2 separate regions of the Homo sapiens genome follow, and region 2 is linked to region 1. Evidence: promoter capture Hi-C in human tissues and cell types (Jung and others, 2019). All regions are on one chromosome and are shown on one strand. Each heading gives the region's core, a stretch centred on a gene start or on the middle of the fragment in contact. The rest is flanking DNA. Distances are from core to core; before and after follow the strand shown.

Evidence for each region. Contacts are between HindIII fragments. The study calls those that stand out against the background at their distance.
Region 2: a fragment that was not itself captured here is called in contact with the fragment with the promoter of AMN1 in region 1 in 1 of the 25 tissues and cell types used here (dorsolateral prefrontal cortex).

Annotation. Positions count from the first base shown.
Region 1 is chr12:31,726,568-31,731,682 of GRCh38, forward strand. AMN1 (antagonist of mitotic exit network 1 homolog) reads right to left here and starts at 2,454. Exons shown (of 7, transcript NM_001113402.2): 1 at 2,404-2,454. The coding sequence starts at 2,441. AMN1-AS1 (AMN1 antisense RNA 1) reads left to right here and starts at 2,698. Exons shown (of 1, transcript NR_198987.1): 1 at 2,698-4,637. It overlaps LOC105369722 (a long non-coding RNA gene), which reads left to right. Exons shown (of 3, transcript XR_931497.3): 3 at 2,090-2,323. RefSeq lists a silencer at 2,243-2,322 and enhancers at 2,373-2,722, 2,735-3,367, 2,763-2,962. The HindIII fragment of the contact is 7,129 bases long and covers 1,564-5,115 here.
Region 2 is chr12:31,393,016-31,398,130 of GRCh38, forward strand. All of the region lies in intron 17 of DENND5B (DENN domain containing 5B), which reads right to left. It also overlaps the pseudogene RNU6-618P. Among named protein-coding and RNA genes, the nearest start is that of LINC02387, 26 kb to the left of the region's middle. The HindIII fragment of the contact is 7,553 bases long and covers 1-5,115 here.

The sequences.
Region 1 (5,115 bases), core at 1,204-3,703:
AGGAGATAAGGAGTTTATGCAAGAACATAAACCAAGCCCTGTTTCCTTCATGGAGAAAGCCTCATCAGCTGGACTAAATAATGTGCTTAGTGACACACTTAATTACTAGTCTGGCTCAAGCTTCTTACTTTGTTACAAACCAGAAATAGCTTGCTGACCAACTGCCAGTCTCAGACTGTACCTTGTCCCAGAAGGGTACAAAATTAGGTTCTAAGGGCAAATATGGACCTTTACCTAGGGACCACACTCTAGCATGACAATGAAGATCATGTAGTCATCCCTGTCTTAGCCCCAAGTTCTGAAGAATTTTTCTTAACATTGTTAGTCTGTTTCCTCTTTTTTTCACTAAGCACTGTGTTTTAAAATTCTATCCAAATGAATCTACTCTTTGCTTTTCTTTCATTTATTTATCTATTTATTTATTTATTTTGAGACCAGGTTATGAGATTGGCTAACTTTTTATTTTTGGTAGAGACATGGTTTTGCCATGTTGCCTAGACTGGTCTCCAACTCCTGGCCTCAAGCAATCCACCCTCCTCAGGGTCCCAAAATGTTGGGATTACAGGTGTGAGCCACCATGCCTGGCCTACCCTTTGCTTTTCTAACAGCTGCATAATATTCCATGGTAACTCTCCCATTCCAGCTCCATGCCACCAGAAATAATTCTGCAAAGAACATCTTCATGTGTCTCCTGGTTTGGGCTCTTCACCTCTTAAGATTTTGTAACAGTCTTCTAAGTGTCTCCCTATTTCCAACTTCTGCCTAATTCAAATCTCTCTCTGCTCACAGTACAGTTCTAAAACCTTTGATAGCTCCCCATGACTGAAAGAGGAAATGCTCTTACTTCATCCTGGTCCCTAAGATTCTATTCCCAATGACCTGGCTTTATGTCTCACTACTGTGCTATTCATATTGTATCTTCCATTCACATTGGAGCGCTACTTTCTGGTCTTCTCTCATATTTCTACCTTTCCTGCCTGTCAAACCTTTACTCTTTTTATTTCACTCTCTACGATACATTTCCTCCCATTTGCAACCGTCAGATACTACCAATGTTCAAAAATAACCCCCTTGACAAAGCTTTCTCCTATTCTTTTCCTTATTAGAAATTTCAAAAGTTTGTTACTCTCCCGCTTGTGATATTATTCTACATATATTATAGTTATTTATTTTATTTTTTTGAGACAGTCTCGCTCTGTCGCCTAGCAGCCTAGGCGTGCAGTGGCGCGATCTCAGCTCACTGCAACCTCTGCCTCCTGGGTTGAGGCGATTCTCCTGCCTCAGCCTCCAGAGTAGCTGGGACTACCGGCGCCACTACTACTCCTGGCTAATTTTTGTATTTTTAGTACATGCCGCGGTTTTGCCGTGCTGGCTAGGCTGGTCTCCAACTCTCCTGATCTCAAGTGCCTCGGCCTCCCAAAGTGCTGGGATTACAGGCGTGAACCACCGTGCCCAGATAATTTTTGTATCTTTAGTAGAGGCGGGGTTTCGCCACGTTGCCCAGGCTGGTCTCGAACTCCTGAGCTCAAGCAGTTCTCCCACCTCGGCCTCCCAAGTTTAATGTAAAATATCAGATGCCATTGTTTCAGAAAGCCTTCAGTAGATTAAGGAGATTGTTCTCCTTATCCTTAAGATGTCTATTTTTTACATGGCAATATTAACGGACTGAAAGCTCCTGGAGAGACGCAATTGCCCTTGTAACTTCCATTTCCGTACAATTTCTGGTAGGAAATAATAATAACAATAACACTTAGTGGTGTTTATTATTTGCTGGGCATCCTTATAAGGGTTTTACATGTTTTAAATTTATCCCTCAGGACAACTCCATGTGATGGGTGCTATTATCACAAAAATTTTATAGATAAAGAACCTAGGCACAGGGAGAGGTTACGTTACCGGTCCATGGTCACGTGGCTGGTGAATGGCAGAGCCGGGGGCTGAACCCAGCAATCTCAGCCAGGGATCCGTGGTCTTAACCACTTTGTTACCTTTATCCCAGGGTCTGTCAATGTTTATTCCAGTTACAGGGGTGGAATTCTGCTAGAAGCTTTTGAGAACCTCATCTAGCGTTGTGTTTTTTTCTACCAAGGCTTTTAGCTGCTAAGAGAGAGGCCACTGCCAGTAACAGCCGGGGCGCCGAGCTGTCAAGGCTGACGGAGGAATGGACGCTCATCGCGCAGCGGAGTGTTGGAGGGGCAAGCCCGCCAAGAGACCCACTTTGCACAACTGTCCTCAGCCAGGAAACGACAGATCAGGAACCCAGGGACAGAAACACACGCGGGGCCTCTTCAGAGGTCGGCGGGGGGGGTGGGAAAGGGGCGGGGAGGAAGAGCAGCGCAGGGCCTGGCCGTTTGGAGGAGGTGCTGGGGCGGCGCGAAGGGAGGCGGGACAGGGTAGACTCACAGATCCAGGAGCTGACTGACCCGCCGTGGGCGAGGCATCGCTGCAGCGTCTGAAGCCTCTTCCGCGGTCCCAGGGCCTCCAGAACCCAGCCAGGGACCGTCCGCCAACTCCCGCCCACCGCGCGACGCGTAGGTTTTTGTGACGTCACACGGATTTTTCCGGTGACCGGGGCGTGGCCACGCTTCGGACTCCACAAGGAAAGAAGAGAGCCCCCTTTGGGGCGGAGCCACTGAGGGCTGCGCGGAAGAGGCTGGGTGTGATAAACTATAAAGAGGCCCTAAACTCGGATGCAACGTGACGGGAGTTGTAGTTCTTTCACCTGGCGGGCGTCTGCTCCGGTTCAGCTGCAGGAGGTTTCTTGGGAGTTCAGCCCAGCGCGCAGCCCCGCCGCGACGCCGCGAGCCGAGAACTCTCCTGGGGCGAAGGGAGCGCTGAGAAGTCGCTACTCTTACTAAAAGGATGCGTTGGATGCTGGGCCATACCCTTGGCGATGCACACTGGAGACCCGCTCGGATACGGACTCCATTAACATCAAACGGAGCGTGTTAGAGGATCCGAGTTTACTGAGCACTTTCTAGGAAGCGTGCACTGAGCTACGTGCTTTCTAGGCCTTAGTTCAATACTTAACCATATTCATTATAATCCGGTGAAATCGTAATTATTTAGCCTTATTTTACAGATGAGGACACTGCGTACCAACAAGTAACCTCACTAAGAATTTCGTCATGGAGGAGAAGGGAACCTGTATTCAAATTAGGAAGGATCCTGAAGAAAGGGCACCTTTAGGTGGAATTTTATCTTTGGTTCTGCTGCAGAGTACTTGCTGCTTTTTAGTGCTCCCTCCACCCCCCTCATTCTTCCTTGTAGATTAGTCTGTTGTTTGTATGCTGAGTTCCTTTTTTAAGCTCCTTGAAAGTTGGAACCCACTGCTGTTGCCTGTTCAGGATGCTACACATTGAATCAACATGGATTTATTAAGCGCTGAACGAGGGCTAGGGATCGTGCTGGGTGCTGAGGATTGAGTGGCGAACACTTGGGTCAGACAAGTAAAAGGGCAATTAGAATAACTGTTAAATGCTTAGATGGGGTTAGTTCTATGGAAGCACCCATGGGGGTGGGATACAGATCAGAGAGAAAAGGGTGGTCTGCAAATAGTTTGGGATGGCTACACTGGAGAGTGATCAAGAGTGAGTGTAGGGCAGGGGTTGGCCGACTTTTTCCATAAAGTGCTCTGAAAGTTGCAGATTCCAGGAGAAGTAACTATTGTCAGACCCAGACAAATTGGAGCCTAGAGACCAGAAAGGAAGGAAACTCATGCTTGTATGTCTGAGATAAGAACTGTCTCAAGGCCAGACGCGGTGGCTCACACCTGTAATCCTAGTACTTTGGGAGGCCGAGGCGGGCGGATCACGAGGTCAGGAGTTTGAGACCAGCCTGGCCAACGTGGTGAAATTCCCGTCTCTACTAAAAATACAAAAAAAAAAAAAAAAAACTGGGTGTGGTGGCGGGCGCCTGTAATCCCAGCTACTGAGGAGGCTGAGGCAGGAGAATCGCTTGAACTCGGAGGAGGTTATAGTGAGCCGAGATCGTGCCACTGCACTCCAGCCTGGGCGACAGAGCAAGACTCCGTCTCAAAAAAAAAAAAAAAGAAAGAACGAACTGCCTCAAGGACTTTAAAAAATAAACCAAAAAACCCACAATTTCTTCACATCTTTCATGCATTTAATGTTTTGCACAACTTGCTTGTTTTGCAAATATGCGCACATTTCTATGACAAGATTTATTGCTAAATATTCTTTAAAACTGCAGCAGTTCAGATAAGATACTGTCGAAAGGACGTTTGGCCCAGCAGCAGGACCTCCACCAATGAACGGACTCCAATTCTTGATTTGAGCCTTGGGAACCAATCAACTTAGTTTCCAAGAGTTTATGTGAACTTCCCTCCTTTACCAGTAAAATCTTCCCCCTATTCTTCCCTTCTCCAGACCCGTGGCTTGCCATAGCTGTACATCTTGGATTATAATTCTTTTTGTTCACTCCCAAAGAAACTCAGTATCTTTGGAGAATTCTTTCTTTGTTGTCTTTTAGCTTCCCAGAGCCAAACAAGAAATATTTTAGGTTTTGTGGGTCATGCTGGCTTGGTCACAGCTATTCAACTTGTATCTTAAAATTAGCCATAGACAGTATGAATGGGTGGGTCTCTGTTCCAATAAAACCTTATCCTAAACACTGAAGTTTGAATTTTATGTAATTTTCAACTGTCATGAAATACTCATCTTTTGATCTTTTTCAGCCACTGAAAAATGTAAAAGCCATCCTTAAGTTGCAAGCTATACAAAAACAGACAGTGGACTGGATTTGACCCTTGAGCCATTTGTCCATGTGCCCTCACCTGATCTAGAAAGCTAAAATGCACATGCCTCACGCCTGTAATCCCAGCACTTTGGGAGGCCAAGGTGGGCGGATCAGCTGAGGTTAGGAGTTCGAGACCAGCCTGGGCAATATGGAGAAACTCTACTAAAAGTACAAAAAAATTAGCTGGGCGTGGTGGCAGGTGCCTGTAATCCCAGCTACTCAGGAGGCTGAGGCAGGAGAATTGCTTGAACCCAGGAGGCGGAGGTTGCACTGAGCCGAGATCACACCACTGTACTCCAGCCTGGGCAACAAGAGTGAGACTCTACCTCAAAAAAAACAAAGAAATTACGAATTTTA
Region 2 (5,115 bases), core at 859-3,358, 330 kb before region 1:
AACTGGTAAGTTATAGGAGTAAATAACTAGCATGGCGCCTGTCACAAAATGCTAGCAAGCCCCCAAATATGAGAAGCAAGGTTGAGAAGTCCCAACATCACTCCTCAAATGTTCCCTTATGCTACCCACCTACGAGCCTGTTAGTGAAATGTTCCCTTATGCTATCTACCTACGAGCCTGTTAGTGGAATGTTCCCTTATGCTACCTACCTACAAGCCTGTCAGTGGGCATAGATTAAGGCTTCAGGCGCTCTGGATAGTTAACCTGGAGTTTGAAGATTTGCTGTTGTGTTTAAAATAAGGGGAAGATGCCAGGTACCCTGTGGCATCTGGGCCTGAAGCCCAGAACTCCCTCCCTTCCTGGCTAGTCAATCTGTCTCAGCACTGCTTCCTTCTGCCAGCCAGTACTTGCTCTTCTAGGCCACTTTCCTGAGGGACAGGTTGGTGGGCTGCTTGAATGCGACCTAAATCACTTTTGTCCACCAAACCCAAGGAATGGTTTGTTTTTTTAAAAAGGTGGTAAACATTTCAGAAGTAGGTAACAACAGAAAAGGTATATAGTTCAGATTTTCTTGTAGTTCTAATTTACTTAACACACTATAAAGGAAAACCCATACATCCTCATGTTTAAGAATCTCTGAATTCATACTGCTCAAGGATTTCTTGCATGAACATTTCTTTTTTCTTTTTTGAGATGGAGTCTCGCTCTGTCTCCTAGGCTGGAGTGCAGTGGTGCAATGTCGGCTCACTGCACCCTCCGCCTCCCAGGTTCAAGCAATTCTCCTGCCTCAGCCTCCCGTGTAGCTGGGACTACAGGTGCCGGCCACCATGCATGGCTAATTTTTTTGTATTTTTAGTAGAAATAGGGTTTTACCATATTGGTCACGCTGGTCTCGAACTCCTGACCTCAGGTGATCCGCCCACCTCAGCCTCCCAAAGTGCTGGGATTACAGGCGTAAGCCACCATGCCCGGCTAACGTTTCTTTCAGTAAAATTCAAGTAGGTTTTTTCTACACTAATGCATAAAAATTGTTAAAATGAAAACCTCTTATAATTGAAGTACTGATACCATGGCCTCTTGTTCCTAGTGGTTTCTTTACCCAGTAGTTTTTGTTTGTTTTTTTTACCTTTACCTTTCTCTATTTTTTCTTTTAGACATGAAGTCTATTTTGAAAACTGTCACCCATTCCAAAAGAGCTTTGATCAGTATTATTATAAAACTGATTTTAAAAATTTTCAGTTCTCTGAATACCATTTTACATATAACATACTGTGAGAAAATACCGTTATCCATTTCTGAGTCTTGGGTCATTTAGACTTTTCTGCTTATAGCATGAGAAAAGAAAGTACGATTAAAAAAAAATGGGGGATAAAAGCCTCTCAGATAATACCCCCATGAAATTGGACTGACTCAGATGTTATAATAATTAGGATGGATTGAGCTGAAACCTACTTTTAAATTTTAAATCAGCATAATTAAAATTCACCATGTAATAAAAGTCACCAATTTTGATGAGCTTTGACAAATGGATAGTCATGTAACCACCACCACAATCATGATACAGAACATTTCCATCATCCCCAAAAGTTACCCTGTGCTCTTTTTTTTTTTTTTTTGAGACGGAGTCTCGCTCTGTCACCCAGGCTGGAGTGCAGTGGAGCGATCTCAGGTCACTGCAAGTTCCGCCTCCCGGGTTCACGCCATTCTCCTGCCTCAGCCTCCCGAGTAGCTGGGACTATTGACACCTGCCACCATGCCCGGCTAATTTTTTGTATTTTTAGTAGAGACGGGGTTTCACCATGTTAGCCAGGATGGTCTCGATCTGCTGACCTTGTGATCCGCCCGTCTTGGCCTCCCAAAGTGCTGTATTACAGGCGTGAGCCACCGTGCCCGGCCTATCCTGTGCTCTTTTCAGTTACCTTCCTTAGCTCCTAACTCCTGGCAACCAATGATCTACTTTCTATTATTATATTGCTTTTATAGAGATCTGATATATAAACAGATATATATCACTATCTGTTTATCCTTTCACCAGTTGATGTATATTGGGGTTGTTTCCATTTTTGGCTATTATGAATAAATCTCTCAAAATATCTGGGTACAAGTCTGTGTAGATATATGTATTCATTTCTTTTGTGTACATATCTAGGAGTAAGATTGCTGGGCCAAGCGTACGGTAAGTGTGCATGTATCTTTATAAATGCCAAGATGTTATTTTGTATTCCTACTAGCAATGCATGAGCTTTCTGTTACTCCACATCCTCACCAATATTTGTTGCTATAAGTGCTTTAAATTGGTTGGGCACAGTGGCTCACGCCTGCAATCCCAGCACTCTGGGAGGTCAAGGTGGGAGGATCACCTGAGGTCAGGAGTTCAACACCAGCCTGGCCAACATGGTGAAACCCCGTCTCTACCCAAAATACAAAATTAGCCTCACGTGGCAGTGCATGCCCGTAATCCCAGCTATTTGGGAGGCTGAGGCAGGAGAATCGCTTGAACCTGGGAAGCGGAGGTTGCAGTGAGATGAGACCGCACCACTGCACTCCAGCATGGCCAACAAGAGCGAAAACTCAGTCAAAACAAAACAAAACAAAACAAAAAAACAAAAAAACTGCACTCATAGTTAATACACAATCATGTGCTAGCAAATGGATAGAGACTAATAGAAGAATCTAGGGAAACTGCTTTGTTAATAAACTAAGGACCTATTAGGTACCTTTGTTATTCTACTTGTGGTTATAATCTATAGATAAAAAGCCCCTTCACTGATAAACTTCTGTGATTTTTCCCTAAATACCGCCTCTATATTCATGTTCTGTGGCTGCCTTCTGTGGCTGCTGTAATAGACTCACAAAACTTGGTGGCTTGAGTGACAGAAATACATTTTGTTGCAGGCCAGAAGTCAAAATTTAGTTATCACTGGGCCAAAAAAAAAAAAAAAAAAAAAGCAAGGTGTCAGCAGGGCTGTATTCCCTTGAAATTCTAGGGGAAAATCCCTTCCTTGCCTCTTTTAGCTTCTGGTGGCTGTTGGCATTCCTTGTTTTTTTTTTTTTTTTTTTTTTGAGACGGAGTCTCACTCTGTTGCCCAGGCTGTAGTGCATGTAGTGCAGTGGCACGATATTGGCTTACTGCAACCTCCACCTCTCAGGTTCAAGCAATTCTCCTGTCTCAGCCTCCCAAGTAGCTAGGATTACAGGTGCACACTACCATGCCCAGCTAATTTTTGTATTTTTAGTAGAGACGGGGTTTCGCCATGTTGGTCAGGCTGGTCTTGAACTCCTGACCTCAGGTGATCCACCCACCTCAGCATAATGCCTGGCCAGCATTTGTTGTTGTTGTTGTTGTTTTTTTTTTTTTTTTTAAAGACAGAGTCATGCTTGTTTCGGCAGCACATATACTAAAAAACTGGAACAATACAGAGAAGATTATTAGCATGGCCCCTGCACGAGGATGGCAAGCAAATTGGTGAAGCATTCCATATTTTTCTCAATACTTGAATGTGGAACATATGCACAGGGGAAGGAAATAACATTGCACTTTATAAACACTGTATTGTAAGTGGAAAATGCAATGTTTTAAATAAAACTATTTAAAATTGGCACCAAAAACCCCCCCAAAAAAGACAGAGTGTCACTCTGTCACTCAAGCTGGAATACAGTGGCATGAGCTCGGCTCACTGCAACCTCACCTCTACCTCCTGGGTTCAAGCAATCCTCATGCCTCAGCCTCCTGAGGAGCTGGGATTACAGGCATGCACCACATGCCTGGTTAATTTTTGTTTTTTTAGTAGAGACGGGGTTTTGCTATGTTGGCCAGGTTGGCCTCAAACTCCTGATCTCAAGTGATCTGCCCACTTCGGCCTCCCAAAGTGTTGGGAAAGAATACATATGATGGCATTTAGGGTCCACGTAGATGTGATCCAGGACAATCTCCTATTTCAAGATCCCTATCACATCTGCAAAAATCCTTTTTCCAAATAAGGCAATATTTACAGATTCTAGAGGTTAGAATTTTATATTTTTGGGAGACATTATTTAGTCTATTAAAGCCTACATTAGTAATTTAGTCTATTAAAGCCTACATTAGTATAAATTAGAAGTTTACTATATTACTAAAAATGACACATGAACATAGTATAATATTCATAAAATTCACTCCTTTATAGTATTTTGTTTCATCCTTACTATAGGAAGAAAGTTGGGACAGAAGGGGTAGAAGGAAATTTTAATCTCTTAGAATAAGAGACACTGGGGCGGGCGTGGTGGCTCATGCCTCTAATCCCAGCACTTTCAGAAGCTAAGGCGGGTGGATCTCAAGGTCAAGAGATTGAGACCAGCCTGGCCAACATGGGGAAACCTTGTCTCTACCAAAAATATAAAAAATTAGCCAGATGTGGTGGCGGGCACCTGTAATCCCAGCTACTTGGGAGGCTGAGGCAGGAGAATCGTTTGAACCCGGGAGGCGGGGGTTGCAGTGAGCTGAGATCGCACCACTGCACTCCAGCCTGGGTGACAGAGTGAGATTCCATCTCACAAAAAAAAAAAAAAAAAAAAAAAAGGCTAGATATGGCTATCTGGGAGTACTGTAATATATAACTATTATTATTTCTCTTTTAAGTTTCAGGCAAGGCCAGGTCTGGTGGCACACGCCTGTAATGCCAGCACTTTGGGAGGCTGAGGCAGGCAGATCGCTTGAGCTCAGAAGTTCAAGACCAGCCTGGGCAACATGGCGAAAGGCAGTCTATAAAAAATACAAAAATTAGCCAGGTGTGATGTTGTGTGCCTGTAGTCCCAGCTACTTGGAAAGCTGAGGTGGGAGGATCATTTGAACCCGGGAAGCAGAGGCTGCAGTGAGCTGAGACTGTGCCACTGCATTCTAGCCTGGGTAACAGAGTGAAACCTTGTCTCAAAAAATAAAAGTTTCAGGTAAAATATTTACTCATATTTCCACAGCTTAATAAAAACAGAGCATGCAAGTTTTTTAAAAAATTAGATTTTAACATCTAAACTCTTCCGGCTTTTGAATATTTATGAATTTTCCTCAACTTTCTTCTTTTTAAAATCTCCTCACTACATTCATTAACACAACTGTTTTCTATCAAATGGTCACATGAA